Linked DNA regions of Homo sapiens: regions 1, 2 and 3 are each linked to region 4. The links are contacts of gene promoters, found by promoter capture Hi-C in blood cells and fetal thymus (Javierre and others, 2016). All regions are on one chromosome and are shown on one strand. Each heading gives the region's core, a stretch centred on a gene start or on the middle of the fragment in contact. The rest is flanking DNA. Distances are from core to core; before and after follow the strand shown.

What was found. Contacts are between HindIII fragments. The CHiCAGO score rates a contact against its expected background, and 5 or more counts as called.
Region 1: a contact is called between a fragment that was not itself captured here and the fragment with the promoter of ITK in region 4, in 3 of 17 cell types (M0 macrophages, M2 macrophages and erythroblasts). The highest score is 5.7, in M0 macrophages.
Region 2: a contact is called between a fragment that was not itself captured here and the fragment with the promoter of ITK in region 4, in 1 of 17 cell types (activated CD4 T cells). The highest score is 5.4, in activated CD4 T cells.
Region 3: a contact is called between a fragment that was not itself captured here and the fragment with the promoter of ITK in region 4, in 1 of 17 cell types (non-activated CD4 T cells). The highest score is 7.0, in non-activated CD4 T cells.

The regions. Positions count from the first base shown.
Region 1 is chr5:157,472,872-157,480,516 of GRCh38, reverse strand. It overlaps NIPAL4 (NIPA like domain containing 4), which reads right to left. Exons shown (of 6, transcript NM_001099287.2): 6 at 5,795-7,645. The coding sequence ends at 7,557. It overlaps ADAM19 (ADAM metallopeptidase domain 19), which reads left to right. Exons shown (of 23, transcript NM_033274.5): 23 at 1-3,213. Among named protein-coding and RNA genes, the nearest start is that of NIPAL4, 16 kb to the right of the region's middle. RefSeq lists an enhancer at 1,080-1,590. The HindIII fragment of the contact is 2,464 bases long and covers 5,093-7,556 here.
Region 2 is chr5:157,602,313-157,609,966 of GRCh38, reverse strand. No RefSeq gene overlaps it. Among named protein-coding and RNA genes, the nearest start is that of ADAM19, 30 kb to the right of the region's middle. RefSeq lists an enhancer at 7,355-7,514. The HindIII fragment of the contact is 2,938 bases long and covers 3,170-6,107 here.
Region 3 is chr5:156,911,882-156,918,694 of GRCh38, reverse strand. No RefSeq gene overlaps it. Among named protein-coding and RNA genes, the nearest start is that of TIMD4, 48 kb to the left of the region's middle. RefSeq lists enhancers at 3,942-4,887, 4,888-6,087. The HindIII fragment of the contact is 3,564 bases long and covers 3,290-6,813 here.
Region 4 is chr5:157,179,133-157,186,847 of GRCh38, reverse strand. ITK (IL2 inducible T cell kinase) reads right to left here and starts at 6,008. Exons shown (of 17, transcript NM_005546.4): 1 at 5,733-6,008. The coding sequence starts at 5,870. The HindIII fragment of the contact is 39,229 bases long and covers 2,106-7,715 here.

The sequences.
Region 1 (7,645 bases), core at 5,075-7,574, 290 kb before region 4:
CCCGGGCTGGATGGAGGCTGGTACTTACCCACCCCTTTTAGCTTTTAGGGATTAAGGAAGGGTCAAGCCAGCCACTGCTGTGGCCCTGCCCAGGGCTTGGTTGAGGGAACGGCTTCTGGCTGTATGGCTGCATGTGACAAGCCACGTCCCCTCCCACCTCTCCCCAAACCCCTGCATCCCTGTATTCACACGGGTCACTCTGACTCAGACAGGTACTATTCGTAGGCAGTGTAGACAGCAGGAGGAGCACCGGGCTTGGGCTTCCTCTGAGCCGTGATGCCAAAGGTTGCGACTCCTGACTCTGGATAATTTTTAGTTGCTCTTTGTTTTCTCTGCCGCACTTTCCTGGTGCCCCACGCTTTTCTCTCTTCCTTCCCCTCTCATTCTCCCTCTAATGTGTGGTGCTTTGGTGAGCAAACCCTCAGCAGTCCTGACCTTCGGGTGACCAGGTGCTTGTGACCTACAAGTCAGAGTCCTCTCTCACAGTCGGCCACTGGATTTCCCTCACTGGCTCTCAGGAGTGTGACCAGAGTAGACTTGGGGCATGGCCATTGGGGTCATATGTTTATTTTTCATTGTGTTTTGTGACCTCAGCAGGGTGGGGGTCTTCCTCCTTACTCTAAGCTAAATCTAGGTGAGGTTTCCCCTTAGGGAGCCCAGCTATTTACAAAGTACACACGAGGGAGCAGGCTGGTCATTGACTTCGGGCTGGACCGTTGCCCTCTGAGCAGAGAACAGACCCATTTCTGGGAGCTGCCCGAGATCACTGGAGAAGGCAGCCAGCAGCAGCTGCACTGGAACAGTCAGAGCAGGGAGCCTCTTCCTCAACCCAGCTTTTTGTCATTCACTTCCTTTTGTTCTCTCTCTGGTCACTGCCCTTACCTGACCCTCACAGAAAGAGAGCTCTGAGCAGGTGAGGGGGTCTGCGGTGGCTCCTGTCTTCCCTGCAGCAGGGAAGGAGGGCCGTGTGGTGCTTTGCTAGATAGGACGGTTTTTGCAAAGCACCTGGAGATGTTTGCTGGGAGATAGACTCCCACTCCACAAAGGTGCTGGGTGGCTCTCCGGACAGGAGCTGGCCTGACTCTCACTCCTCTGAGGCTTTCCTGGGGCCTCCTCCCATCCTGCCATGAGCAATTGTTTGCTCTTGAAAACCTCACTGCAAGGCTGAGGCTGAGCTTCTGATTCACCACCCCAGGGCCTCCTTATAGTTCTCTGCACACAATAGGTGCTTCTTGGATGTTCTTGGGTTTGGAAATAAGTGGAAAATACGGGATGTACCCCTGGGGGAAAAGCCTGGGTTGGGTTTAGAAAGATCTCAGGAAAATGAGTTTCTCTTCCCTCAGGGTGGCTGTGATACAGGTTCCCCATGTCCTTGCCGTGGGTCATCCTTGCTGTGGGTCATCCTTGCTGTGGAGATCCATTCCCCACCTTTCCTGTGGCCCAACCTTTTATTTAAATGTGCTACCCTCTGCCTCAAGGCTTGGTTCCTGGAAAGTAAAGGTGAAAACATCCCCTTTCACCCCTCTGCAAAACAAACAAGCAACATCCTCAAAACCCAACCCCATGCCTCACAGAGCTTCCTGTGGCTTCTCCAGCCTTTCTCCCTCACATCAGGAGGTAGATAGCTCTGAAATGACAGCGCCACAGCCATAGTGACTGCATGAGCCATCTGAACCTGCAGTCCACCCTCCCTGGAACCACACCAGAAAGAGACCTGGGTTGTCGTTTTCTTGCTTTTTGTTTTGTTTTGTTTTATTATTTTCATATCACCTCCATCCCATAAAGTTGTACTGTGAACTGGAAGATGGTGGAATGTTTTGGAATTTGATAGACTTTCGGCAACCAGTTCTACTAATGCTTCACTCCTGGCTCTGTTCAGGGAGGCTGCCCAGGAGGAAGACTGGCCATTATGCATCCCCTTTTCTTTCCAGTGCCCAGTATGCTGTTTTGAGGTGTCAAATACAAATAAATCTGGGCTTAGGGAAGGAGAGACCTTATTCCAAAGCACGATTGCAGAAGGGGAAAGGGAATATTGCAAAAGGGAGAGGAAGGGGCCTTATGGGAATAGTGAAAAGGCTCAGACCGACCGATGGCAAGATCTGCAAGCGTCTCAAAGCCCAGGCAGAAAAGGACTTTTCTTTTATTGGAAGAAGTAAACATGGCTAGAAAGAACCACGTTCAGGGAATGACGTTGTGCCCAGCCTTTTTTTTTTTTTTTTTTTTTTTGTCTCCAGGGGAGGGGCTGTTTGCTGGCTCAGGCTGAGGATGGCCCAAAGTCCAGGGTCTGGTGGGGAGGAGGGAAGCTTAACTCAAGTTTGGGTTAGTGAGTTAGCAAGCTCTTTGTGCAGATGGGGATGTAGGTAAATCTTTTTAAAAGTGAAATTAACCTCCTGCCAATTTTACAACCCAAGAATTTTTTTTTAAGGGCCTTGGAGCCATCTCTAAAACAAACCTCAAGGGATTTAGTGCCCTGTCTCCCTGTCTCTAGAAGCCTTAGCCTGGGCACCTGGCTCAATCTTGTAACTGCCTGCTAGCCATAGATTCCTTTCAGCCTTGCTGACTTCTCCCTATAAAAGTAAAGCCTTTTTCTGCCCCAGCTCTGAGACACTTGCAGATCTTAAGGTCTGAGACTTGCTGATTTTCTGGTTGGAGTGTTTTTTTGTATTGCCATAGTCCCTTCCCCCTGAAGCAATAGCCCCTCCCCACCTCCTGCAATACGCCTTTCCAATCTTTATTGGAAGTCTCTCCCTGCCTACTTCCTAATTTATTCTTATTTGACAGAGGGTATGGAAGACTTGCAATTTGAAAACTGGGGACCAGTTCCAAAGTCAGTAATTGTGTTAACCACGTGTATAACAGCTCTGCTGGACACCCAAGAAAGCCATGGGAACGCCAACTGGAAAGGTCCCCTTCCCCAGGGGAGCCTGCGAAGGAGAGGTTCTGTAGAATCCAAGCCCACATTTCCAAAGTCACCCCCAACGCGTCCTCTCACACCGTCCACTGTGCGTTTGTATGTGTCTGGGATCCAGGGCAATGTGAATTTTCTTTTTATTTGGGAGATTGTTCACGGAAAACAGATCTTCTTCTCTCTTGTCCACCTATTAATTGTTTACAATATTTGTACATCTATGCAAAATACTTGAATGGGCCATGGTGCCTTTTTTCCTTGTTAGTATTTAATTAAAAATGAATTGTTTGTCATTTGCAATGTTATCTGGTTTGGCAGCTCTTTATTGTGTGTTTGTTGTAATGTCCTACTGCTCAGATTAGATAGGATTCATGACGTGGACTTCAGAAAGAGTTCCCACAAGGATGGTCAGTTCAGCCTATAAAGCCTTCATGGTGGACCCTGAGCCACAGCAAAGCCTATGTTTTCCTATGACCAGTAGAGGGGGCTGTTTGTCTTTACACCTGGACGCAGGCTGCTTATTAAAGGCCTGAATGATCCTGAGATTCTTCGATATGTTTTTTCTCATCCTACACTACTGCATATAGAAGACAGCTGAGAGCCTCTGCTCACCTCCTCATCTTATTAAGGCAAGGGATCATACTTTAAAGAGGGGAGACACTTGCCCCAGGTCTCTTGGGCTGGGTAGGCAGGCACAGCCAGGGATAAGGTTGGGTGTGCTTTCTGATTCCAGAACCCTGCGTGATATCACAGCTCGTATTCATTAGTGCTTCCCAGTCCATAAAAGGATCCCACCCTTATTCTCTCATTGATCCCTACCTCAATTTTGAGGTTCTCTCAGAGAGATGGAGGATTAATAACCATGATCGAAGGTAACAGTTACTCAGTACAGTCGGCCCCCCATATCCGTGGGTTTCAAATTCATGGATTCAACCAACAGCAGGTTGAAATATTTGAAAAAAAAAAAAGTACAACCATAAAAAGTAATACAATTTAAAAATACGGTATAACAACGATTTACACAGCGTTTACATTGTATTAGGTATTATAGAAATCTGGAGATGATTTAAAGTATATGGGAGGATATATGTAGGTTATATGCAAATACTATACCATTTTATATAAGGGACTTGGCCATCCTTAGATTTTGTTATCCATGGGGGTCCTGGAACCAATCCCCTGCAGATACCAAGGAACAGCTGTATTTAACATACGTGAGCCACTCACTGCATGCTGTTTACAAATAAGGATTATCTCGTTTAATCTTCACAAAAACCCTGAGAGAGGCTTCTTGCTCTCTGATTTTACTTTTTTTTTTTTTTTTTAAGACGGAGTCTCTCTCTGTCACCCAGGCTGGGGTGCAGTGGTGCAATCTCAGCTCACTGCAACCTCCGCCTCCCGGGCTCAAGCAATTCTCATGCCTCAGCCTCCTGAGTAGCTGGGATTACAGGTGCCCACCACCACGCCTAATTTTTGTATTTTTAGTAGAGATGACCTCAAGTGATCCATTCGCCTCAGCCTCCTGAAGTGTTGGGATTACAGGCGTGAGCCACCGCACCCAGCCTGATTATATTTTTCTAACCTCTCATGGTTATGAGGTTGCCTATGGACCCTAAAGACATCTAAACACAAATGCTTTCACTACTAACATGCCTGCTCATGAAATTGCTTCCCACTCACACATCCCTACCTGGTTAAGAGGCCACTCTTCCCCTGCTGTCAGCCAGTCTCTGGGGTGATGCTCACGTGTTGGTCACTAGCATAATGGAGAAAGCCTGGTTGGGCAGACCCTGGTTGAAGTCCTCACTCTGCTTGCTACTCAATAGATAAGTGGGCCTGGATAAGTTCCAGATTTCTGAGTCTCTTCACTATACAAATAATATACCTGCCTCAAAAGTGTCGTGATCATCAATGAAATTCTGTATGTGCAAGTCCCCAACAGGGCCTGTCGCAGGCTATGTGCTGAGAAACTGCTGACTACATCAGTTTACAGTTGCTTTGCTTAACATGCAGAGTTCTATTAGGATCTGCCTTGCATTGAGTGCTGGTCCCCAGGAGAGTTTGGGCAAGGAAGGACTGTGATATTGTTCCTTCAATCTTTTCTTTTTCTTTTATTCTTTTAGTGCGTATGATGTGCTAGGCACTGAGGATAAGCAGTAAATCAAAGCCAACTCTCATGAAGCTTATATCCAGATGGGGAAAGAGCACAGATCACAAGAAAATAAATGAATAAAGTAGTAGCAGATTATGCACAAGGCACAGTGGCTCAGGCCTAAAATCTCAGCATTTTGGGAGGCCAAGGTGGGAAGATCACTTTAGGAAAGGAGTTTTGAGACCAGCCTGGGTAACATAGCAAGGCCTCATTTTTACCAAATCTGAGCCTGGGAGTTTGAAGCTGTAGTGAGCTAGGATCACACCACTGCCCTCCAGCCTGGGGGACAGAGCCAGACCCTGTCTCAAAACACAAAAAACCAAAACAGATTATGCAACTGGGGGCAAGGTTAGTCTTGGAGAGACACATTACGCCTGGTGGTTAAACCAGATATCAGCTTTGCTCTTCCTGGCTGGGTGACCTTGGGCAATTATATAAATGGGAATAAAAACGTATCTAACTTGAGGATTTGTGAGGAGTTAAAGAGAATTCACAGGAAGCACCTACTATGCCTGGTGCCTGGTAAGGGCTCAGGTGTTAACTAGGGATGAGTTGTCTTCAACTGACTCTATTTCTGAAACTATCTTTCCCACTCTACCAAGGGTGTTAACTACCACAGACACGGTAGGGGCTTTATTGGCAGTCGCATTCATTCAGAGATTGGAGACTGTCCTTCCAGCCCTAGAAAAACCAGTTTAATCACTCCATGCTCAAGGAAGGTCAAGACACAAGTATCAAGTAAATATAATCTGTAATCTTTATTCTTGACCCTGCAGACCACACTCTTAGGGCCCTCAGTTTACTGCCATTCTCAAGAGCCAACTTGTTGCATTGCTTTTAATTACAGACAGAAATCCACATTCATCAAAAACTGGGGATTTGAGGCTGAAGAGTCAGGGAGCCAGTCTGCTGGTCAGCCAAACCTTGGAGTTCCAAGGCCAGCAGGAATTTACCTGGGCTTGGCCCACTTAGGGCACAGGATATAAACACAGAGTGCAGGTAGAGTCACACAGGGGAGGCCCTGCACCAACCTCGGGGCTGAGGATCAAGTCTTCCCTCTTTCCAGATACACCAGCCCACTAATTTCCCTTTCTAATGGTTCTTCTCCAACCCCCACACTCTTGTGGCTAGAAAGGAGATAGGAAGGGAAGGAATAGTAATTATCTCCCTCTCCAGCTGCTCTGGTTTTTTGTATGCCTCTGGCCAAATGTGAGGGGACCAAAGGTACTCCCCATAGCAGGTGGTGTTGGAACAGTCAGGGCATGCTGCTTCCCAGTGTGGGCAGCTCATCAGTGGAGGAGGGGACTCGGTAGCAATCTGGTCAACAGCTAGAATGCACCCCATGCCAAGTCTGCACCTCCAGTTGGCCATTGAGATTCACAGCTGTCCAAGCCTTTAAGGCTGCAACCCAGAAATTACCCCTGAGCTCGTTTCTCCTAAGTTCCCAGATGAGCACCAGAGTCAACACAAAAGTTAGCCCCTAGTATCCAGAGAGCCTGGGACTGCCTTCTGCCAAATCCCAACTTTGCTCCTCATCCTCTTCCCACCTCCCCAGATCATAGGTTGGTTGACTCCTTGAGGAATAGTAAAGTGCGTTCTGCCAAATTCTAGCTTGGCAGCCAGGCCACTTTGAAGCAGTGAATTTGCTGTTCTTCTTTCAGAGTAAGACAAAATGCAACACTGGGTTTGGCCACCAGAGTTTGGCTGTGGCTCTATTATTGTTTTGTTTCCAGTTCTGCGATTACTGCCTTTATGTCTCAGTGACCGACTCCTTAGGATGTAAGTAGAGGGGGAAGGGGTGATGGTGGGATGGACTGGGTGGATGCCGAGGTGCTGACTGCCAGGCTGGAGTGCTCGGGGAATGAGCTGGTTGAAATTTTTCCCTGAGACATCAAGTGGCTTTCACAGTAAGAAGGTCAGCTGAGGTCTTGCTTCTGCCTCCAAAGAGGAAGTGACAAAGGCAACAGGATATTTTACACTGGTTGTGTCCCTGTCAGCTCTGGATAGGGAGGCATGGCCAATTGCTCTGTGGGCCTCTGGGAGCCAGCTCTATGTCATCCTTGGGCTAGAAAACAACAACAACAACAACAACGGAGATTCCGTCTCAGGAGGAGAATTGGTGTGAAGGAACTTCCAATGACCAATATCTTAGAGAAGTCCTTGGACTGTGCTACATTCAGTGGGTCAGACTCCATCTTCTTCCCAACGGCATAGAGATGGCACCGAAAGAATGAATGAGAAGGAAGGTCCAGGGAACCTGCAGGCACTGATGTAAACTTGGGTATTTGGTCACTGAATCTGTTTCCAGGAAGTTCTGCCACCATTGCTATTTGGGTAAAGATTTTTCTCCTGGAAACAGTGATGAGGTATAAATGAACTTCTCAAGAAAAGAGAGCCCATTGGTAACAGTTGCACTGGAAAATAACCAGGTGGTTTTGAAATTGGGAGGGCAGGCTGTACCATCGGACTCATCCTCTCACTCACATATTCCAAGCTTCAGGAATGGATTATAAATACTTTGGGTTTCTCTTCTGGTGATGAGGTGCTGGCAAGTTCTATATTGTCCACAAGGACGTTCTTGTCTT
Region 2 (7,654 bases), core at 3,389-5,888, 420 kb before region 4:
ATGTATTTAACTTCCGTTGTTAGTCATTCAGACAGACTGTTACCAAATTTTTGTTACTCTCAGTAATATCCAGGAGAAATCTCTGCTCACAAATGTAATTGTTTTCTTATGAAAATTTCTAGAGGGAATCTGGGTCAAAGGGCAAACACATTTTAAGGACTTTTGACACATATTGACACATTGCTTCTCAATAACACTCAAAGCACAGGACCTGCAGTGTATGAAAGATGAAAGGAGATGCCTTTTAGCAGCTTCTTCATCACGGGGTAGGGTATCATCACTTCTGCTGTTCTCTTATTCTCCTGTCTGTATGCTTTGTGTAGCAAGGTGGAATGTAGGATTCTCAAGGGTGAAACGGCATTTTTGCTGTATCCATGGTGGATGTAACTGAATGCATAACAGTGATAGTAATAACAAATTAATATTCGTGTAGAGTTTACTAAGTGGTAGGCACCAGGCATCAGCTCCTAGGGTTGACAGCTCATTTTGTAGGGGAAGCTCAGAAAGGAAGAGCAACTTACCTGATGCCACACAGGGACAGAGCTCAGCTAAGCCTGACAAGAGCCTGCCCCCTAAGGCCCTTTGCTATGCCGCCTCCATGTAAGCAGTGCAAATAAATATTTGTGCATAGGTTGAATCATTCGTTATTTTCCTCTGGTAGAACAACACGAGAAACTCAGAAGGAGGCAGCCATAAAAATGGGCTAAAAAATGCCAGCTGAGTTCTCCCGGTCAGTCCTGACTTGAATAGTCCCAAAGGATTTGAGCAATGCTAGGTTTGAGGCTATGGCCCGAGGGAGTATTTTAATGAAGGGTTTCTTATGACTGAGAACTCTAAGAAGGAAGCTTGAATTATCCCCGTATGAAAATACAGCCATCTAAGATTATCAGTGGCATTTCCTTTTTATAGTGTTTGGCACTAATAATAGCCCCAAACTCCTTAACCCAACTTTCCAGCTTTTTAAAAGAACAGTACTTAGGAGAATGTCTGAACGCTGGGACTGACGGGACTTATTCCATCTAGTGCTTTCTCCCCGAAGGAGAAGGGGAAGGGGGCTCGGGGTTGATGGCTGCCTGCCTGCGTGCTGTGAGCCTAGATTCTTAAGGAAGTGAGGTGGGGCACGTGAGTCTGGAGGAGGAGAAAGGCCATGAGGTTTTTTATGGAGAACTCAGAACCAAGTCAGCAATGATCTGTCCTGGGCTCCAGGCCCTCTCTCCATGCTCCGTGGCAGCCCTGTTCCCGTTAGGCCCGTGGTCAAATTTCTAATAGGGGATCTGAGAAGCAATTGGCCAGCCTCTCCGAGCGCGCCTGAAAGGTCTTCGCAAAGCTGAGAGCGATTTTACAAACTAATGTGTTTCTGAAGGTGCCCTGTCCTTTCTCACTTCCATGTTTCTCCCACAGCATACCTGGTAGCAGGCCCTCTTCCTGCCACGTGCTTGTGGAACAGTTCATTACGTTTCAAAGCTACTTCTGTAAAAATCATTTTTTGAGGTACAATCGACATATATTAATATATCTCCATTTTAAGTGCACATACAACTTGATAATTTTTTTTTTTTTTTTTTTGAGACAGTCTCACTCGGTCACCCAGGCTGGAGTGCAGTGGCTCAATCTCGGCTCACTGCAACCTCCGTCTCTAGGGTTCAAGAGATTCTCCTGCCCCAGCCTCCCAAGTAGCTGGGACTACAAGTGCCCACCACCGACCCAGCTAATTTTTGTATTTTTAGTGGAAACGGGGTCTCGCCATGTTGGCCAGGCTGGTCTCGAACTACTGATCTGAAGTGATCTGCCCATCTCAGCCTCCCAAAGTGCTGGGATTACAGGCATGAACCACTGCCCCCCGCCACAACTTGGTGAATGTTGACAAACGTCTGCACCTGCCCCAATCAAAATTTAGAACATTTCCATTCCCTCAGAAGTCTCCTGCCACCTCCAGCCAGTCCCCTCTCTCACCCCAGCCCCAGGCAACCACAGATCTTCCTGTCAGTATAGCTTAGTTTTGCCTTTTCCGGCAGTTTCACATACGTTGACTCATAGAGTTGTTTCTGGTTTCCTTCACTCAATATAAAGAAAGGAATCATCAATGTTGTTGCATATATTAATAGTTTTCATATTACTGGGTAATAAACTATTGTGTGGATGTACCACAATCTATCTGGAATTTGAGTTATTGCCAGTTTTCGATTGCTATGAATACAGTTGCTATGCACATTCATGCACAAATCTTTTTGTGGGCATATAGCATATAGGAAGTATGTGGCCTTTCTGGGTCATTCTCATGTCTCTAGCAGACATTGTTAGTGGGTCACAGAGCTCTCAATTTCTATCAGACATTCCTTCTCATCACAGAGGTAGTCTGGGCAGTCCCTGGCAGTGATAAGGAGTTTGTACTGAAGACAAACGTCGTTTGCCATCCCTGACCTAGCCCAACCCATACATCTGCTTTCCACAGATGGAAAACAGGGCCAGAGATGGGAAGAACCTGGCCAGTGTCACAGAGTGAATCAGTGAACTTGTGAGAAGCTAAATAAAGGGCTTAGGTGATTCATTTCTCTCAGGCTAGTAAATACCTAGGAGTTGAATTGCTGGGTCATAGGGTAAGGGATAAATAAACTGCCAAACTGTTTTCTAAAGCTGAATATTCTTCTAAGTGATATCTCACAGTGGCCTTACTTTACAATTCCGTGATAACTAATAATGTTGAACATTTTTCATGTATTTGCTGGCCATTTATATATCATCTTTTTTGAAGGGTTTGTTCAAATCTTCTTCTTCTTTTTTTTTTTTTTTTTTTGTGAGTTGCCTTCTTTCATTGAATTTTAAGAGTTCTTTATGTATGTTGGGTACAAGTCCTTTATCTAATATTTGCATTGCAAATATTTTCTTCCAGACTGTGGCCTGCCTTTTCAGTTTCTTAATAGTACCTTTCAAAGTACAGGCAATTTTTAAATTTTAATGAAGTCTAATTTATCTTTTTTTTCTCTCTCTTATGGTTTATACTTTTGTGTCCTGTCCAGGAAATCTTTGTCTACCATAAGACTGTAGTTTGTGAACATTTTCTCCTATTTTTTTTCTAGAAGTTTTATAGTTTTAGCCTTTACTTTGTCAACCTAAAATAATAAAATTTAGAAAATATGATTAAATGTAGAGTTTTTTTGAGCACAAAGCTTGAGGACAGCCACCCAGGAAGCACAAATTTGAAAGATGGAATTGTACTGTTGTGCTCTGAAGTGCAGAAGTTTGGGGTGGTTTACATAGACAAAGTTTAGGAGAAAAAATCAGAATTTTAACTTTTTTTATACAAGGCTTTTTTTTTTTTTTTTTCCTGAGACAGACTTTCATTCTGCAACCTAGGCTGGAATGCAGTGGCACCATCAGCGTTCACTACAGGCTCGACCTCCTGAGATCAGGTGATCCTCCCACCTCAGTCTGCTGAGTAGCTGGGACTGCAGGTGTGTGCCATCATACCCAGTCAATTTTTTATAGACACAGGGCTTCGCCGTGTTGCCCAGGCTGGCCTTAAACTCCTGGGCTCCAGTGATTATCCCACCTTGGTTTCCCAAAGTGCTAGGATTCCTGCTGTGAGCCACCATGCCCGGCCTTATGTAAGGCTTAATGCATAATTACAATGGTCTGATTGGTGAAGGTCATCTTTTTCTTTCAGGAAAGATATACTGAACATTCCATACTGAAGATGAAACAGTCATGAGGTCTTTTGCGCCATCTGGTTTGAGTTAGGTACAGAATAATGCAGGAGACAATCTATAACAAAGGTCAGTGATTAGAAGGGGAGGACATCTGGTCTCTGGTCTCTCCCAGTCATTTATAGCACAAGAACAATGAGAAAAGAGAGTTGATCTATAATCTAAGAAGCAGAAGTTGCAACTACATGCTAAGTGACTCAGATCACCAGTTCTCTCTCAAGGTTTAAAGTCTTTTTGGAAGCCAGGTGTGGTGGCACATACCTATAATCCCAGCATGCTGGAAAGCCAAGGTGGGCTGATTGCTTGTGCTCAGGAACTCAAGACCAGCCTGGGCAACATGGCGAAACCCTGTCTCTACAAAAAAATACAAAAATTAGCCAGGTGTGGTGGTGCGCACCTATAGTCCCAGCTACTCGGAGGCTGAGGTGGGACTTTGCCAGAAAAAAAAAGTGCTTTGGGGGTTCCAACAGCTTTTGAATGTATTTATGTTCACAACTTTTGTCTCTATTATTTATTTCAAATTAATTTTTGTGTATGATGTGAGCTAAAGGTCGAAGTTCATTTTTTTCATATGGCTGTCCAGTTCTTTCAGTACCGTTTATTGAAAAGATCATTCTGAGCAGCAACATGGTGGTTGGCAAGAACAAGTACCTTACGAAAGACAGCAAAAAGGGAGCCAAGAAGTGGCTGATCCATTTTCTTTTTTTCTTTTTTCTTTTTTTTGAGACAGTCTTGCTCTATCCCCCTGGCTGGAATACAATGGTGTGATCTCAGCTCACTGCAACCTCCGCCTCCCGAGTTCAAGCAATTCTCATGCCTCAGCCTCCTGAGTAGCTGGGATTACAGGTGCCTGCTACCATGCCTGGCTAATTTTTTTTTTTTTTTTTTTTGAGATAGCGTCTCACTCTGTTGCTCAGGCTAGAGTGCAATGGCACGATCTCGGCTCACTGCAACCTCTGCCTCCCAGGTTCAAGCAATTATCCTGCCTCTGCCTCCCAAGTAGCTGGGATTACAGGCGTGTGCCACCACACACGGCTAAGTTTTTGTATCTTTAGTAGAGACGGGGGTTTCACCATGTTGGCCAGCCTGGTCTCAAATTCCTGACCTCAGGTGATTCACCCGCCATGGCCTCCCAAAATGCTGGGATTACAGGCTTAAGTCACTGCGCCCAGTCTAATTTTTCTATTTTTAGTAGAGACGGGGTTTCACCATCTTGGCCAGGCTGGTCTTGAACTCCTGACCTCAGGTGATCCACCTGCCTCGGCCTCCCAAAGTGCTAGGATTACAGGTGTGAGCCACCACCCCTGGCTGGTTGATCCATTTTCTAAGAAAGATTGGTACGATGTGAAAGCATGCTATGTTCAGTAGAAGAAATACTGGAAAGACACTGGTCACCAGGACCCAGGGAACCAAAATTGCACCTGGTAGTCTGAAGGGTCGTGTGTTTGAAGTGAGTCTTGCTGATTTGCAGAATGATGAAGTTGCATTTAGAAAATTCAAGCTGATTACTGAAGATGTTCAAGGCAAAAACTACCTAACTTCCAAGGCATGGATCTTACCTGTGACATGGGGGAGAGAGTGGAATTTAGCCTAAGTCAGCCTGGTCCCAAGGTTCCTTAATCTGGAACTCTAAGGCCTTTTTAGAATATTATCTTAATTGTCTGCTTGTCTGTTGAATGAAAAGGGATCCATGTAGGCCTCACGCCTGTAATCTCAGCACTTTTGGGAGGCCGAGGCAGGTGGATCACCTCAGGTCAGGAGCTCTTGACCAGCCTGGCCAACATGGTGAAACCCCGTCCCTACTAAAAATACAAAAAATTAGCCAGGCCTGGTGGCAGATGCCTATAATTCCAGCTACCCGGGAGGCTGAGGCAGGAGAATCGCTTGAACCCAGGAGACAGAGGTTGCAGTGAGCCGAGATCGCCCCACTGCACTCCAGCCTGGGCAACAAAAGTGAAATTCCGTCTCAAAAAAAAAAAAGAAGAAAGAAAGAAAGAAAGAAAGAAAGAAAGAAAGAAAGAAAGAAAGAAAGAAAGAGGCTCCATATAATTGGTATTGGAAATTTCTCCTCAGTCATCCGTAACTATCAAACTGTTAGTGCAATCCTGAACTAAAGGTCTTTAATTATGACTTTGTTCATCACAAAGGTTTCCGACTCTTTGAAAAAGACAGAACATCATTATTTCTTCCGACAAGTGCTTCTTCAAATGGGATCCCAATCCTTAAACCTTGCAGGAATATTGACATTGGGAGGAAGCCAGTGCTCAGCCCCAGTTAGTATTTCTCATCTTTAGGTAAACTTCTCCTTTTAAAGCTGTTTCCTGGGCTTTGCTTTTTACTTAGAGAACTTTGGTTACAGAGAACACATGGGAAGGGTTTTGCGACTGTACTAATCAATAAGCTTCAATAGGTGGGATGGAAATGATGGGCTTAAGTGGTCCCTGGAGACCCTCCGTGAGCCAAATGCACTTTCAAGATATCTACAACAGTGGCTTTTTTCCCGTCTCTGTGCCTGTGTCATTTACTATTCCTAGTTTTAAACCCATGTCTCTATTCAGAGAAAAAGACTACCTTGTGCGTTTGTTGCACTTTCTTTGAGATGAAATTTTTCCGGCCTTCAAAGAAAACCCTTTGATTTCCAGCCTCTGAGTCATAGTTTTCATATACTATTGAAATCACTCACAGTCTGTGAAAAAGGATGTGCGGTTATGGAGGAGAACTGTGGCCCAGGAAGTAGCATGAATCATTGAAATGTGGTGCATGGAGAACCACCCTCCATGGGCAGTAAATTCCCTCTACCCCCTTCCTCTGCCCTCAGCATCACCTCCCGCTGCCTGCTCCGGCAATTGGTCTAACATACAGGCTCATCAATATGTGTCTGAGTTAGTTGCCAACATCAATTGTTCGCACCTGTATAACTCTCTGTAGTTTGCAAATATTTTGAATCATTTATCGACATCTGCACCTGTTCATTCAGTAAATATGAATTTAGTAGTAACAGTAATATTATGGGCCCACCATGAGACAGTTCACCAGACATCAAACCTATGGTAATTATCAAGAGTTATAAGTCATGGTCACTGCCAAGATGGAGTTGGTAGTCTAGGGCGGGGATTTTTTTTAACATAATTCAGTGAAATTTAGTTGAATTGTAATGTAAAATGTATTTCCTACTGAGGATCACAGTCAAAAACATTGGAAACACACTGGTTTAGTGGAGGCTATTGTCAAAAGCCCCCAAATCCGTCCTCCTCATGGCCATCAGAGAGTCATAGAGTCTAGTGCAGGAGGCAGCCATATTATTACTATCATTGCTTGTAAAAGTGTTTGCCAGGCACTGTATTTTGCTGCAGAAGCAAAGGCAACCAAACACACATGTCCTCATCTTTATTTTGGGGGCTCCCCATGACCCTCAGAATGAAGGCTCAACACCTTCACCTGACCCAGAAGCCACATCCAGATCTCGCCTCTGACTATCTCTCTGGCTCCCTTCCCCATTGCTCATAACACTCCCCCTCTTCCTCTACAGATGCCCTCCTGACGCTAGCTGCCTGGAAACACCTCTCCGTCTTTGAACACTCAGCATGAGTATCACTTCCTCTGTGCCTTTGCCCCTCTCCTCCAGGCAAAACTAACTGCTTCATGCTTGGTCTCCCACAATTACCTTCCTCATCCCCCTTCTTCTGGCACCCTTTTTTGGGAAAAGGGGGAAGATCTTGCCGTCTCCCACCCCTTGCCACAGGGTGCTGACAACAGGCAGGGCTTGTAGCATAGGCTCCTGATTTTGGCCTAGAATGCCATATTCTGTCTTTTGTAATTGATCCAAGGATGGCATATAACCCAAGCAAGGCCAATCAAAGTCCATGAGCCAATATCTTCCCTTCTGTGTTAAGATGGTTTCCATTGGGTCTCTAAAGGGTCCTGAATATATAGTCTCTAATGTTACAGCA
Region 3 (6,813 bases), core at 3,822-6,321, 270 kb after region 4:
TATGATATGAGCAGCACAGAGCCTATGGTTCATTAACAATGCAGGAAATGACATGGAATCACACCGTAACTGTGACTCACTTCTTTATTTTCTTTCTTGAGACGGAGTCTTGCTCTGTTGCCCAGGCTGGAGTGCAATGGACAATCTCTGCTCACTGCAACCTCCGCCTCCCGGGTTCAAGCGATTCTCCTGCCTAAGCCTCCTGATTGAGCAGCTGGGCTTACAGGTGCATGCCACCATGACCACCAATTTTTGTATTTTTAGTAGAGATGGGGTTTCACTGTATTGGCCAGGTGGGTCTCTAGCTCCTGACCTCAGGTAATCTGCCTGCCTCAGCCTCCCCGAGTGCTGGGATTACAGGCTTGGGCCACTGCACTTGGCCAACATTGACTCACTTCTAAAACTCCTAAATTTTCTATTATTTTCTTTTCACATTTGAGTGTCTTTAGAGGTGACCATAGTGTCACATCCTAGTTCTTGCTTGGGGAATTTAATTTTGGAAACAGGGAAGAGTCCGTGGGAGTAAAATGTGGTGAATGACAGGAATATTCAACCAGGGGCAGTGCGTGGATGTGAAAGCAAGGCAATCCAAATAAGTTTCTCTAAATATAATCTTGGAAATGTGCTCCTCAGCAACAACAGGTTTATTTTAAAACTTTAATAACTGCTAACACGAGGAGCCATGGGAGAGAGATTAAAGCAAACAGTTGTTGAATGAATGTATAAAAAACATGTGTGCCTGAGTGAGAGGGGCTTCTGGCTGGGTAGAAATGTGGAAAGTAAACCAGATCTGAAAGACATTTCTGTGAAGGACTTCCCAGCATGTTTACAGCAATAGCAACATTAATGGAATAAGTACGTGGTTCTCTAAATGTAGCCATCTTTGGATTTCAACTCTCTTGACATTACATTTAAGAGAGAAAAAAGTCAGTCTAATTACTTGACTGGTGAAGCCTATAGATTTTTTTGTCCTATTAGTTCACACAACACTGATCCAACAGTTAGTAAAAATCCCCCTCACCTGGGTACTTGGAAAAACTGGCCCAAGGCAGCCTGACTTCTGACTTGTTCAGTTGCAGTTGGGCAGAATGATTGGCACCAATGATGAAAACAATTAGCAGCAGATTGGCAGCTGTTTCTTTTCTTTTTCTCTTCTCTTTTCTTTTCTCGTCTTTTCGAGACGGAGTTTTGCTGTTGTTGCCCAGGCTGGAGTGCAATTGCATGATCTTGGCTAACTGCAACCTCTGCCTGGTGGGTTCAAACGATTCTCCTGCCTCAGCCTCCCAAGCAGCTGGGATTACAGGCGCCCGCCACCACACCTGGCTAATTTTTTATATTTTTAGTAGAGATGGGTTTTGCCATGTTGGCCAGACTGGTCTCGAGCTCCTGACCTTAGGTGATCTGCCTGCCTTGGCCTCCCAAAGTTCTGGGATTACAGGCGTGAGCCACTGTGCCTGGCCCTTTTTTTAAAAAAAAAATTTTTTTTTTTTTTTGGTCAACTTGGCTTTGATGTCAGCTTAAGATACTTAAAGTGACTTTGTCTAGTGTGCTAAACTCAAACATTTATTTAGAAACGTTGGGGAAGTGGGTCTAGAGCCAGGTTCAGGGCCTGAATTTCCCCATCTAGAAAATGGAGTGGGGCCAGATGGCTTTGTGTATGTAGTCAGGTTATAGTATCTTGTGAGGTAATGATACACCCAACCCTAACTTAGCTCATGCTCCCTATCCACCTTCCAAAACCACCGCCATTATCAATGTCACTACCAGCTTGGGTCTGACTAGAAAAAGAAGACGACAGACACTTCCTAAACAGAACATTTAAACTCAATGAATATTACTTTTCTGTTTTGCAAAGGGGTATTTTCAATCGATTCCCAAATGTATTTCTGAAACTCCTTGTACCGACTAAGAAACACTAACATGAGCAATCATAGTATTTTAGAGCTCGTAATGGCCTCCAGGAGCCTCTGTCCTAGTAGTTCTCAATGTTAGCTGAATAATCAACTGGGGAGCTTTTTAAATGCCAATTCCTGAGTCCTACCCTTTAAGAGATTCTTTCTGTAATTGGTCCAGGGTATGACTTGGGCATCTGAATTTTTGAAAAATGTCCCAAAGTGGTTCTAATATGGAACCAAGTTCTGAAAAATGCTGGTCTAGCCCGGTGGCTCTCAAACTATGCACTTCAGACCAGCAGCCTCCGTGTCACTGGTACTTGATAGAAATGCAGATTCATGTCCTTCACCCCATACCTCCAGAATCAGAAACTCTGGGGGTAGAGTCTAGCAAACTGTGTTTTAACAGACCCTCCAGATGATTCTGATGTGCGTTAGAGTTTGAGAAATGTTGCACTGTAGTAATTCCTAACAGATAAAGTGTTCAAGAAAACAATCTCCCTTTACCAGGGCTGTGTGGTGGTGGGCTTGGCCAGACAGAGGGTCAGGAGCTTCCAGTACCAGGGGCAAAGGTCCTGCTGCTTCATCTCCTTTAAGCTGATAGCACTTTCTGGCTGGATTCCTGCAGTATCTTCCTAATTATAATCTCTGACTTTACTCCTTTTCCTGTCTGTTCTCCATGCTGTGGCAGAGATACCCTCTTTCAATACAGGTATGGGTCTCCTGTCTCCTGTCTTCCAGCCCTTTTCATCCTTGGCCCCTAGACCTACCTAGAAGCAGCACACTTAGCTCTGCCTGGGGCAGAGGTGGCAAACTCTGATGAATTTAGAGGCCAGGCAGCTGATACAGTTGAGGGAGTCAAAGGGAGATGACATGGCCCATGATAAATCGGAGTGTATGTCCACTTAAGGGCATTAAAATTTAAAATTAGTTAAAATGATTTCCTGGGCAAGCAAAACATGGCTGTGGGCTAAAACAAGGTAGCCAGTTTGAGACTGGGGATAAAGGGTGGATTTTAGTAAAAGATGAATTAAAATAAATATATAATTCTTATACTGAGACTCCTTGATCAGAGGAGGCTGTGGATGTAGTTGCTCCTCTCATTCCCTCTTTGTGTAATCAGGATGAATTGTTAGCATCTATAAATAACTTTTTGGTATCTATTGTATGTGGGGCCCAGGAGAGAGAATTGCTTCTTTTAAGGAGCTTCACTTCTGAATGAGACAAAACACACATGGGAAATGCAATAGAATAGGCCGGGTGCAGTGGCTCACACCTGTAATCCCAGCACTTTGGGAGGCCGAGGTGGCACATCACTTGAGGCCAGGAGTTTGAGACCAGCCTGGCCAACATGGCGAAACCCTGTCTCTACCCAAAATACAAAAATTAGCTAAGCTTGGTGGCAGGTGCCTGTAATTCCAGCTACTCGGGAGGCTGAGGCAGGAAAATCGGTTGAACCTGGGAGGAGGAGGTTGCAGTGAGCCGAGATCGCACCATTGCACTCCAGCCTGGGAAACGGATTAAGACTGTGTCTGTCTCAAAAAACAAACAAACAAACAAAAAGGTAATGCAATCGAATGGAATCAATGTTGTTTTTCCATTTCCATAAGGAAGGAATGTGATGCAGTATGTGCTTCTTACAGCTAATGATTATATGGTGGATCCACAATCAAACCTCACAATTTAAAGCAGGAGTTTCCAATCTTTTGGCTTCCCTGGGCCACACTGGAAGTAAAGGAATTATCTTGGGCCACACATAAAATACGCGAACACTAATTATAACTAATAAGCTAAAAAAATCGCAAAAAAAATCTCATAATGTTTAAGAAAGTTTACCAATTTGTATTGGGCCACATTCAAAGCCATCCTGGGCCGCATGCAAGCTCAATTTAAAGCAACCTAATTCCTCACCATGGCCTTTCTAGGCTAAACACAGGAGATACTATCAATTTGTAATGAGCACCTATTATATTCTGGGTACTCTATTAACTGTTTCAAGGCAATTATCTCATTGACTCCTGACAGCAGCTCAATAAAGCGGGTATATTATTTTGGCTTTGGAGCTAAGAAAACAGAAGCACAGGCAGGTGAAGGAACTTGCTCAAGGTCACGTCGTCCAATCTCCTGTAGCAGAGCCAGGTTTTGAACCAGGCTTGAAGGACTCCACACTCTAACCACTACCCTGTACTTCACAGTGAGGGCTCCAATTCCAGACTTCATGCATATGGCTCTGTAACACTGACCTGCATTGGACTCAAATGGATTTCAGTGTCCTCTGATCCACAGCAACCTGAGTATATCAATGGCTTTCCAGTTACAACCCCATTATAGCTCAATCTTCCCTTGTCCCCATATTATTTACTCAGAATCTGATTTGCATTTGCAGAGGAAGCTGTAAAGGGAGAACCTGGCAGGAAACTTAATGAAGCCAGGTGGGACACATTTAAATGGGAATGTGTTGAACTAACTCATGAAGAGCTAAAGCCAGCTGTCAGCAGGCTTAATGAAAGGTTAACAGGAATCCAGCAATGGGTGGCTGGGGAGACTCTTTGTCTCTCTAAAGAAAACAGGAAGTTGAGAAGTGGGCTCCCTGGGTGGAGGTGAGAGCAGAAGGAGGAAGCCACTCAAAACCGAAAGACTGGGTCTGGAAATAGAGCTTCATTTAGATTTGTAAATATGTTACAGCCTTAAAAAAAAAAAGCACTGTGAGTTCTCAGCTCTCTGAGCATCAAAGGACAGTGAAGGGAAGTGTTCCCGAATAAGATGAATGCTAATGCTATCCAGAGGGAGTTTGGGGAGCACTGGAAATGGCTGCTCGCAAAACAGAAGGTGGATTTGCTGCTTGTGCTGAAAAGGTGCTATTGTGCGGTTATATGCATTATCCATACTGTATGTGAAATAATGGGGTGGGAGCACAGCAAAGACTCGCACACATCTGTCAGTTTCACTCCCATTTTCAGCCAAGGAAACTGAGGCTCAGAAAGGGGGCATGAGTTGCCCAGGTCCCACAGTTAACCAGTGCTAGAGCAAAGCACTAAACTGTGTTTTCTAGACTTGTCTCTGTGGCTAAGATTCTGGAGTTTTCACAGAATCTGCCCTGTTATTGCCCTTCTGGAGTCATGTAATTAAGTTCTTGTTGGTGTGGCCATGCAATTCAGCGTTCCTTTTCCGTAAGCCATCTATCTTAGCACACCCCTGGCTTTATAGTGGGCTGCTGCCCCCAGGAAGAGGAATCAGAATGCAAAAAGCGCACAGCTTGGCTGCTCTGCTGCTCTCCTAGCAGCACCATAACTATGGTGACCAACTTGTCTCAATTTGCTCTGGGCTTTCTTGGTTTTAAAACTCAAAGTCCCACATGCCAGGAACCCCTCAGTCCTGGGCAAACTGGTGTAATCACCCAATAGGTTCTTCCTGTGCCATCTGCACAGACAAAACCAGTTCATTGAGAACACGGCATTGCAGTAGAGAAAAAGTTTAATGGACATGACGCCAGCCACATGGGAAATAGAGTTATTATACAAATCAATCTCCCCAAAGGCTTGAAGGTTAGGGTTTTTATGGACAGTTTGGAGAGCAGGGGTCTAGGGAAAGGGTGCTGCTGATAAATTGGGGATGAAATCATAGGGGTGTGGAACACTTCTTTGTGTGCTGAGTCCAACTCTGGGTGGGGCCACAGGACCGGGTGAATCATGAGTCACAAGGCCGGGTGGGATCTGTTGAAAAAATATTTCAAAAAACCAATCTTAGTTTCTACAGTAGTGATGTTACCTAGATGAGCAACTGGGGAAGTCGCAAACCTTGTGATCTCTGGCCATATGACTCCTGAGCAATAAGGGATTGTGGAAACTATGGGGTCAAAATATGTCAGTTATGCAAAATGGGGTCGACTGTGTCAGATTTCTCTCATCGTTATAATTTTGCAAAGATGGCTTCTCTTGGATGGTTGGTCAACCTAAGTCTATAAACTAGAGATCAAAAACAACCATCCTCTCAGTTCTCTCACTCACAGCCCCTGCTCTTGACTTTATTGCAGTGATCACTTTTCCTGTGACTTTGCAGTTGAACCCAAATGGAATTTAGTTTGTTCAGATCCGCTGTTAGAATAGACTACTACTAGATCTACATTTTATATCTAGACCCTTGCTATTCGAAGTGTGAGATTCAGACCAGCAGTTTTGTCATCACCTGGGAGCATATTAGAAATGCAGAATCCCAGGCCCTACCATAGATCCTATGAATCAGAATTCACCTTGTAACATCTAGGATCTCTAGGTCACTCATGTGCACATTAAAGTTTGAGAAGTCCTGGTCTAAAGCATTGATTTTCAAACTCAGCTGCACACTGGAATCACATGGAGAAACTTAAAAAATACTGATGCCTGATCCATAGATCAAAACATCACCTTGTACCCCATAAATATACACAATTATTGTCAATTAAAAATAAATTTAGGCAAGATGCTGTGGCCCACGCCTGTAATCCCAGCACTTTGGGAGGCCGAGGAGGGTGGATCACCTGAGGTCAGGAATTCGAGACCAGCCTGGCCAACATGGTGAAACCCCACCTCTACTAAAAATACAAAAATTAGCTATGCATGGTGGTAGGCGCCTGCAATCCCAGGTACTCGGGAGGCTGAGGCAGGAAAATCACTTGAAGCTGGGATGTGGAGGTTGCAGTGAGCCAGGATCACGCCATTGCACTCCAGCCTGGGTGACAAGAGCGAAACTCCATCTCAAAAAGTAAAATAATAAAATAAATAAATAATTAAAACATTTTTAAAAATACTGATGCCTGGCTCCCATCTGAGGTCCTGATTTGATTCACAACGAGGAGACATGGGCATCAGTTTTTAAAGCACTTCAGGTGATTTGAATATACAGCAATGTTTGCAAACTTCAGCCCTAGAGAGGGGGTAGCTTT
Region 4 (7,715 bases), core at 4,759-7,258:
GTGAAGCGGGTGCAGGGACAACATGAGAGGTGGTAGCAGTCCCAGGTGATAGATATGCTGACAGTCCCAGGTGAGAGATATCCTGTGGGAATCTGGGGAGATTCTAGGAGAACTTTAGGAGGCAAAGCTTGCCAAGGCTCTCTCTCTCTCTCTCTCTCTCTCTCTTTTTTTGAGACGGAGTTTCACTCTTGTTGCCCAGGCTGGAGTGCAATCGCACAATCTTGGCTCTCTGCAACCTCTGCCTCCTGGGTTCAAGCAATTCTCCTGCTTCAGCCTCCCGAGTAGCTGGGATTACAGGCATCTGCCACCATGCCTGGCTAACTTTTTGTGTTTTTAGTAGAAATGGGGTTTTACCATATTAGCCAGGCTGCTCGTGAACTCCTGCCCTCAGGTGATCCACCTGCCCCAGCCTCCCAAAGTGCTGGAATTACAGGCATGGGCCATCGTGCCCGCCTCTCTCTCTCTCTTTTTTTTTTTTTTTAAGACACATAGCGGGGCTTCTTGAAGTGAATAAAGACAAGGATTTGTCCTGGGGCATTTGTGGAAAACGTAGAGGTCCTAAAATATTTCATTGCAGAAGACCCATTTGGCAGGGGGTACCAATTTTCAGGACTGTCCTTTACACTGGGGACTTCAGAGCAAGAATGTATTGCATACTGTGTAATAACCCAATGGAATCCCTGATTACCTATGAGTAACAACTATGGTAATAAGTACTATTTATCAGAGAGTAATGTAGACTCTAGAGACGTGGGACATCAGGCAAGTTGTTTAAACCCTCTTTGTCTCAATTTCTTGACCTACAAATTGGGGTAATAACAGTTCCTAACTTACAGAGTGGTTATAATGGTTAGGTGAAATAATTCACATTTTTGCACAGTGTTGGACATGTAGTAAGTGCTCAGTAAATGTTAGTTACTATCTTATGAGAATAAAGGTGACCTCCATCTTATTAAAAGGAAATAAGATCATGAAGGAATGTTTAATTATTTTATTTTATTTTTGAGACCAGGTCTCAGCCTGTTGCCCAGGCTGGATTACAGTGGCATGATCACAGCTCACTGCAGTCTCAACCTCCTGGGCTCAAGGGATCCTCCCACCTCACCCTCCTGTGTAACTGGGACTACAGGCATGCAGCACCACATCTGGCTTTTTTTTTTTTTTTGTGGAGACGGAGTCTCACCATGTTGCCCAGGCTGGTTTCAAATTCCTGGGCTCAAGTGATCCGCCCACCTAGGCCTCCCAAAATGTTGGGATTGCAGGCGTGAGTCTCTGTGTCTGGCCTTGCTTAATTATTTTAAAAACATAGGCCAGGCGCGATGGCTCACATCTGTAATCCCAGCACTTTGGGAGGCCGAGGTGGGCAGACCATGAGGTCAGGAGTTCGAGACCAGCTGGCCAATATGGTGAAACCCCGTCTCTACTAAAAAAAAATACAAAAATTAGCCAAGCATGATGGCGCGCACCCGTAGTTCCAGCTACTCAAGAGGCTGAGGCAGAGGAATCACTTGAACCTGGGAGGCAGAGGTTGCAGTGAACCAAGGTGGCACCACTGTGCTCCAGCCTGGGTGACACAGCAAGACTCTGTCTAAAAAAAAAAAAAAAGATAGCTTTTTAGAGAATTGCACAGCATTATATAATTTATACAAAATCACACAGATCAAATGTGAGCTAGTTTTTGACCCAGATCTGTCTGATTCCAGAAGCAGTGTTTGTGATCACTAGCAGTAATGCTTTCAAAAGCAAGGAAAGGGGACCATCTCCCCACCTACCATCTTTAATTTAGAAAGGATGCTTGCTGCAAGCAGGAGATGGTTCTGTTGCTAGATAAGACTGTAGGCTAAAGGGAAAAGGCCATGAGGAGTGGAGACCCTCACCCAGATGCTTACTGGAATGGTGATCTTGACTGTTTCTCTTGTTCCATGTAAATGATAATGCCTCCCACATCATAAGGAGCACAGCACACTTGATCCCTAAGGGGCAAAGAGTCATCAAAATAGGAGAACCTTTCCAGTTCTCCAGAGGGGCTTTCAGAAGACCAAGGTGGTGCTTGGGCAAAATTGTGAGTAATAATCACCTTACCATGTAGCAATTGGTAAAAAGCTTATAACATACTTTTCTCATGAAATACTCAACATCACTTGAAGTAGGTAGTGTTGGGGTCCTTACTTTACAAATAGGACACAGGCAGAAAGAGGTCAAGTGTCTGGTCTGAGATCCCACATCTAGAAAGTGGCCACGTGAGCCACACCAATCTATGATGCTTTATTCCCATTTAGGCTGCCTCTTCCATCCTGTGCTTACTCAAAGTGCCTGAGGCTCTCCATTTTCCCTTTACCGCTGAAAAGGATCCGATATCAGTCACATGCAACTAAGTATGCTGTTTAGTTGGTGGCTACCTCTCCAAGGATCATTTGTACTTAGGCTTGCCGACGGTGTGCTGGACTCGGCTTGTACTGGCCCGAGGTAGCTAATTGTTAAGTTTTCAGGAATCTGTGAGCCAGCAGACATCACATTGGTAGTTTAAAATGGGCCATGATGGGAATATTTACACCAAAGGAATTGGCAAACACTATGAATCAGGGCTCTCCAACAAGCCCTGTACTCGGATTCCTAAGCATTTACCAGGACATCCATGTGCCCTTATCTCTCATTGTCCTCTGTCATAGAATTTCAGGCATCAGGGACAACTTGGAAAAAAATTGACAGGCACAGGAGAGCCTCTGAAATCATGTCTGTCTGCAAGCTACCACCTGCCAAATCTATGCTTCTTTCTGGCCCACTGCTCCAGCAAGATGAAGGCGCTTCTTGGCCCCTCTGAAAACACTTGCACATCTCAACAGGAAAAACAGGCATCGAACACCAGAACTAAAACCATGTTAAAGTAAAACCTCAATCAATTAGTATTATAATGACAATAGGCATGATTTTTTAGGTTAGAATAAACATACTTGATTTCTAGAATTACAGAATATGTTCTTGAGTATGTAGAAGGGTTATTTTTCATATGGTGTTATAAATTCATAGAATATGAGAACTGCAAGAATCATAATTTTACACATGAGAAAAGAGAAAAAGAAGCTCTGACACCCGACACCCTAAGAGGGGCAATAACTGGCCAAACAGCTCATAATGCATGTATATCTACCCCACAAAACTTATATTTAGCCACAGAATAGAAGGAATCCAGGACCCTGATCTTAGCTTGACTTTGAAGAATCCTTGAATATCTCCCATAATTTGAAAATGAATTGTTATGACAGCCTGCTAGCTTCTGTAGAGACATGAAAGGGATACAAATAATGGTTAATTTTTACTAGATGCTTACCAGATGACAGGGCCTATGCTAAGTACCTAATATATTAAGTTGAATTGTTTGAAACTTCTAATATCTGATATTCGATCTGCCAAATAATTTCAAAAAGTTCAGCCTAAAGACATTATACCTCTGAGTCTTTGCCATCTTCCTATGAAATGGGTACTATTATCACACCCATTTTACAGATTGAAAATGAAGCCTTTAATTTAAAAATGAAAATGTTCTTCCCATAAGTGTAATGTTATTTACTTATGAGTAATATTAATGCAGCCTTGTGTGCAAATTGGTGGCCTGAAACCATGTAGTATACCTAAGACATGAACAATAATAATTCACATATATTACCTTTTTCAGGGAACTTGGATAAATTTCTAATTAATAAACTTCTATAATAATTAAATAATTAAAGAAATACTTTTAAAATGTTATTTATAAGAGTAAAAAAGGCATTAGAAAACAAGAAATTTGATGTTTGGACATGTATTCTCTATATCTCACATGGAAGAATTAGAAACTGTAGCCTAGGGCTCCCCAGAATGAAGTAATTGTCTTGAAATTTTCCATAATGCTCAGATAAAGAAGTAGGGTGATTTTACAACCTTGTCTACATGCAAATTATGACCAATAATATTCTGAATTAAGGCCATCTGGTTTTGTGATTACTTACAAATAATATTGAGCTGAATTCACAATCAGTTCACAAATAGCAGTTGGGCTAAGGAATTATTAATACTAACTAAATGAGATGATACTATGTTGAATCAGAAAAACGAACTGGTGAAAACTGCAAAATGGACTTTGAAAAAAATATTTAAAGGTACATGACTGTTCTTTCAATATGAAACAAAAACTTTAAATGTTCCATTCACAAAAAAGCATTGAGTAATGCCATGCGATTTATTAGCTCTACATGATAAATCCCCCAAGTTCACAAACTGGGCTCCTGGCCACCTAGCAAAGAGGACTTGCACGTAATTCCATGTGTTTTCTGATTGACTGGTAAATTGTTATCAGTAAGAGTCTGATAATAAGACAAGCAATTCTTTTCACTTCTAAAGAGGCAGAGCTATTTCGCCTGCAACTTTTTTGTTTTCTGTATTTTTTTAATTCACAAAAGACATGCAACACCTGCAACTTTAAAAAGTGAGGCATCCATAGGCTCTATACCCAGCCTGACCTCCTCTGGAGCTCCATCTCATGAAGTGCTTTAAACCCTGGCACACCAAAGAATCCCAAACTCATGCCACCACCTACTAAGTCAGACTCCAACAAAGAACTGGAGCACTTTTGTTTCTAAGTGACCATCAGGCACCTAATATTATTTTCCCTTCAGTAAAATATAAGTGATAATCCTTGTCCTACCCCACTAATGATGTAAAAATAATATAACCATACAGTAAGAAATCAAACATGCTTTGAAAAATTGCAGCATAGGGCTAAACAAGAGCCACTGCATAAAGCAAAGAAGTTTTGAAGAAGAAAGGGATCTTGAAGGTTGTTATTTCCAGTTTTTTCATTTTATGAAGAAAGAACCTGAAACAGGAGGTAGACATTTGCCCAGACTGGATCACCTACTGAGAAGTAGAGTTTGGTCTCCTGACCCTTTGTCCAATGCTTTTTCTACCAAACTACATTATTAGGATTATTCCTGTTGCTTTTGTTATTAGTGATGTTAAGAAGCACAAGACTATTTTTAGATAAAGAGATAGACTGACCTAGCAAAGCAGCCATACTCCTTCTGGGTAAGAACCGCTGGTCTGCACTGCAGAAACTTTGTTCTTAATAACCCTGGTGTCCTAAGAAGTCTATCAAGAGATGAAGAGGTTTGCCATTGTGCCTTACAACTTTTAGATAATTAAATGCCTGGGAAATCTTATTTCAAGATCAGGCTAGCGACGAGTATTGAGACAAACAGAGTTATTCATGAAAACGTTAACACTGAACCCAAAACTTAACCATTCTAAACACCAGTTTCTTCCACTAAAAAATAAGAAAGCTGGGGTAGATCATCCCATTGAATGCTAGTGTTGTATTAATCTATGTTTCATTAAATTTAGTATGTTTCATTAAATTTAGTATGTTTCATAGAAAGTTCAAGTTTTATCGAATCATAATACTTGCTACCTAAAATGTTATTCATAATTTAAAAACCAAACATAACCTTGCAGGGGGAAAAAGCTGATGAATGTTAAATTTACAGTTTTTAGAACTGAAATCACCTAGCACCACCATTTCACCTCTTGACTGCTCTCTGCATTCTCCTCTGATTACTTTTACTGTACTTTTTATGTTGTTACAATAAGCATGTTTGTGTTTCCTGTGCTCTATTTTATGCTATGTATATATTTTTGCATTAGCCCAGTCCAAACATAAAATGCTATGCGAAAAAAGACAAATGAAACTGCTCACATACCCCATGACGATCTTCAAAGTATGCCAGGCTGGCTTTGGTTAACACAAAGAAGCGGACTTTAAAGTTCGAGGGAGAAGTTCTTCTCTTTTGTTGGGATTTCTTGATGAGCTGTTCTTCCAGGAGGATAAAGTTGTTCATGATCCAGTTCTTGAAAGGTGGTGCACCTTGGGCATCACCTCTTAGCACAACCAAAGGAAAGAGTTTTGGGGCAAAGAATGCAATGTGGAGGCAGTTGATCTTCAGAGAGCTGCTCAAGGGCAACTTGCCTTCAACGTTATCTTTCTATCAACGTTCAGCCAACATAGCTGAGCTTCTCCTCTGATGTCAAAGGCCGAAACCACATCCTTTCAAAATTCACAAAACGAGGAGGCATATGTAAAAAATACATACAGCCTTTGCTAATGGCTTGAAATGATATTTGAAAAACTGTAAACTCAAAATTGTGGTAAGGATTACAGTTTAATCTTTATAGTTCCTGGTTTAATCCATCCAGCAGTTAAATCATGTAGCACAAGGAGTAAGGACAATGTGTGGTTTTGCTTACCATGATATACTCAGCAACCATCACAGTACCTGACACATAAAACAGATGTTCAAGAAAAATTTGTTGAATGGATCATCACCAAATTGGGTTGGACAATTAAAAGAGGTAATGAGCACAAAACCCTCACACATTAAAGTGAAGAAATATGTTGCTGAAGTTTATTAGTTTTTAAGATTTAAATTAAAGCCCATAGAAATTTCTCAATGCTACATATAGATGACTGCCTTTCTGTCCTGACGTTTTGTGGAAGAGTGAAAAATAAGTGAATCCTTCAGAATGGCATAATAAACAAAGTATATGTGGGCTTTGAAAACAGACAAACTTGTGTTGGATTCCCAGCTCTGTCACTTACTATGCTGTTTCTCTTTGAGCAAGCCATGACTTCTCTGATCCTTAGCTTCCTTGTGAGGGTCCTTTGGAGGACTGAATCCCATACATCTTATGAATGGTAGGTGCTAGTCATACATGTCACCTTAGAGTTAGTACATAGTTGAAGTATAATGTGTGACAGTTACCTCTACTATGTTAATAATCAAGAGATTTTAGTGTAAGCAGATATTGCATGTAGTGGGTAGGGATAAATAATAAATGAAATAATAATTATTGCTGTATAGGAGTGAAATTCTCCAATGTTTATTTTTAAATGTAAATTACCAGACAACAGCCTAATTTTATTTCATATACTGGATGCCCCAGCATAATCAAGACACCCAGGAGGGTACGGTACTGGTATATTTTAAATTACCTCCCCCATTCTGAGATTCTTAAGACATATGTGTGGAAATACACTGCCCAAACAAGATAGTATTTTTTTTTTCTGAGTATGGGCTTGAGGTAGGGATTGCTACTATTCCCAAATAGCTACTCTCTCCTTCTTACTAGAGTAACAGAATCCCTGACAGTTATCTGGGCATCTGGCCAGCAAGAATAAAGACTACAAATTTTAGCCTCCCTTGTAGCTAGGTGTAGTTGTATGACTGTCTTCTGGTCAACTGAATGTAGCAGAAGTCGTGTGCACAACTTCTAGGAAATTTCCTTAGTGGGATCTGTCATCCCCTTTTCTTTCCCTTTTCCTCCTGCCTTGTGACTAGAATATTGAGGTAACAGTTGGAGCTGAAGCAGCTATCTAGTATCATGAGGTGGAAATTGAATGTTGAGGACAATGGAGTATAAGATAGAAAGAGCCTGGGACCCTGGTGACCATGGATCTTCCATGCCAGCCCTGGATTACATTTTTTAATATCTATTTTCTAAGTCTCAGTTATTTTGAGGTTTCTGTCACTACCAGCAAACCTAGATAATACAGTGCTATCTTCTCAAACTAGACTACAAACTCCTCTGAGGAAAGTACATTTTACACCTGCTTGGTTCAGATGAAAAGAGTTATAGACTTCACAAAGTGTTCTCATCCGGGAAAACAAAATATCATCAGTAGCTGT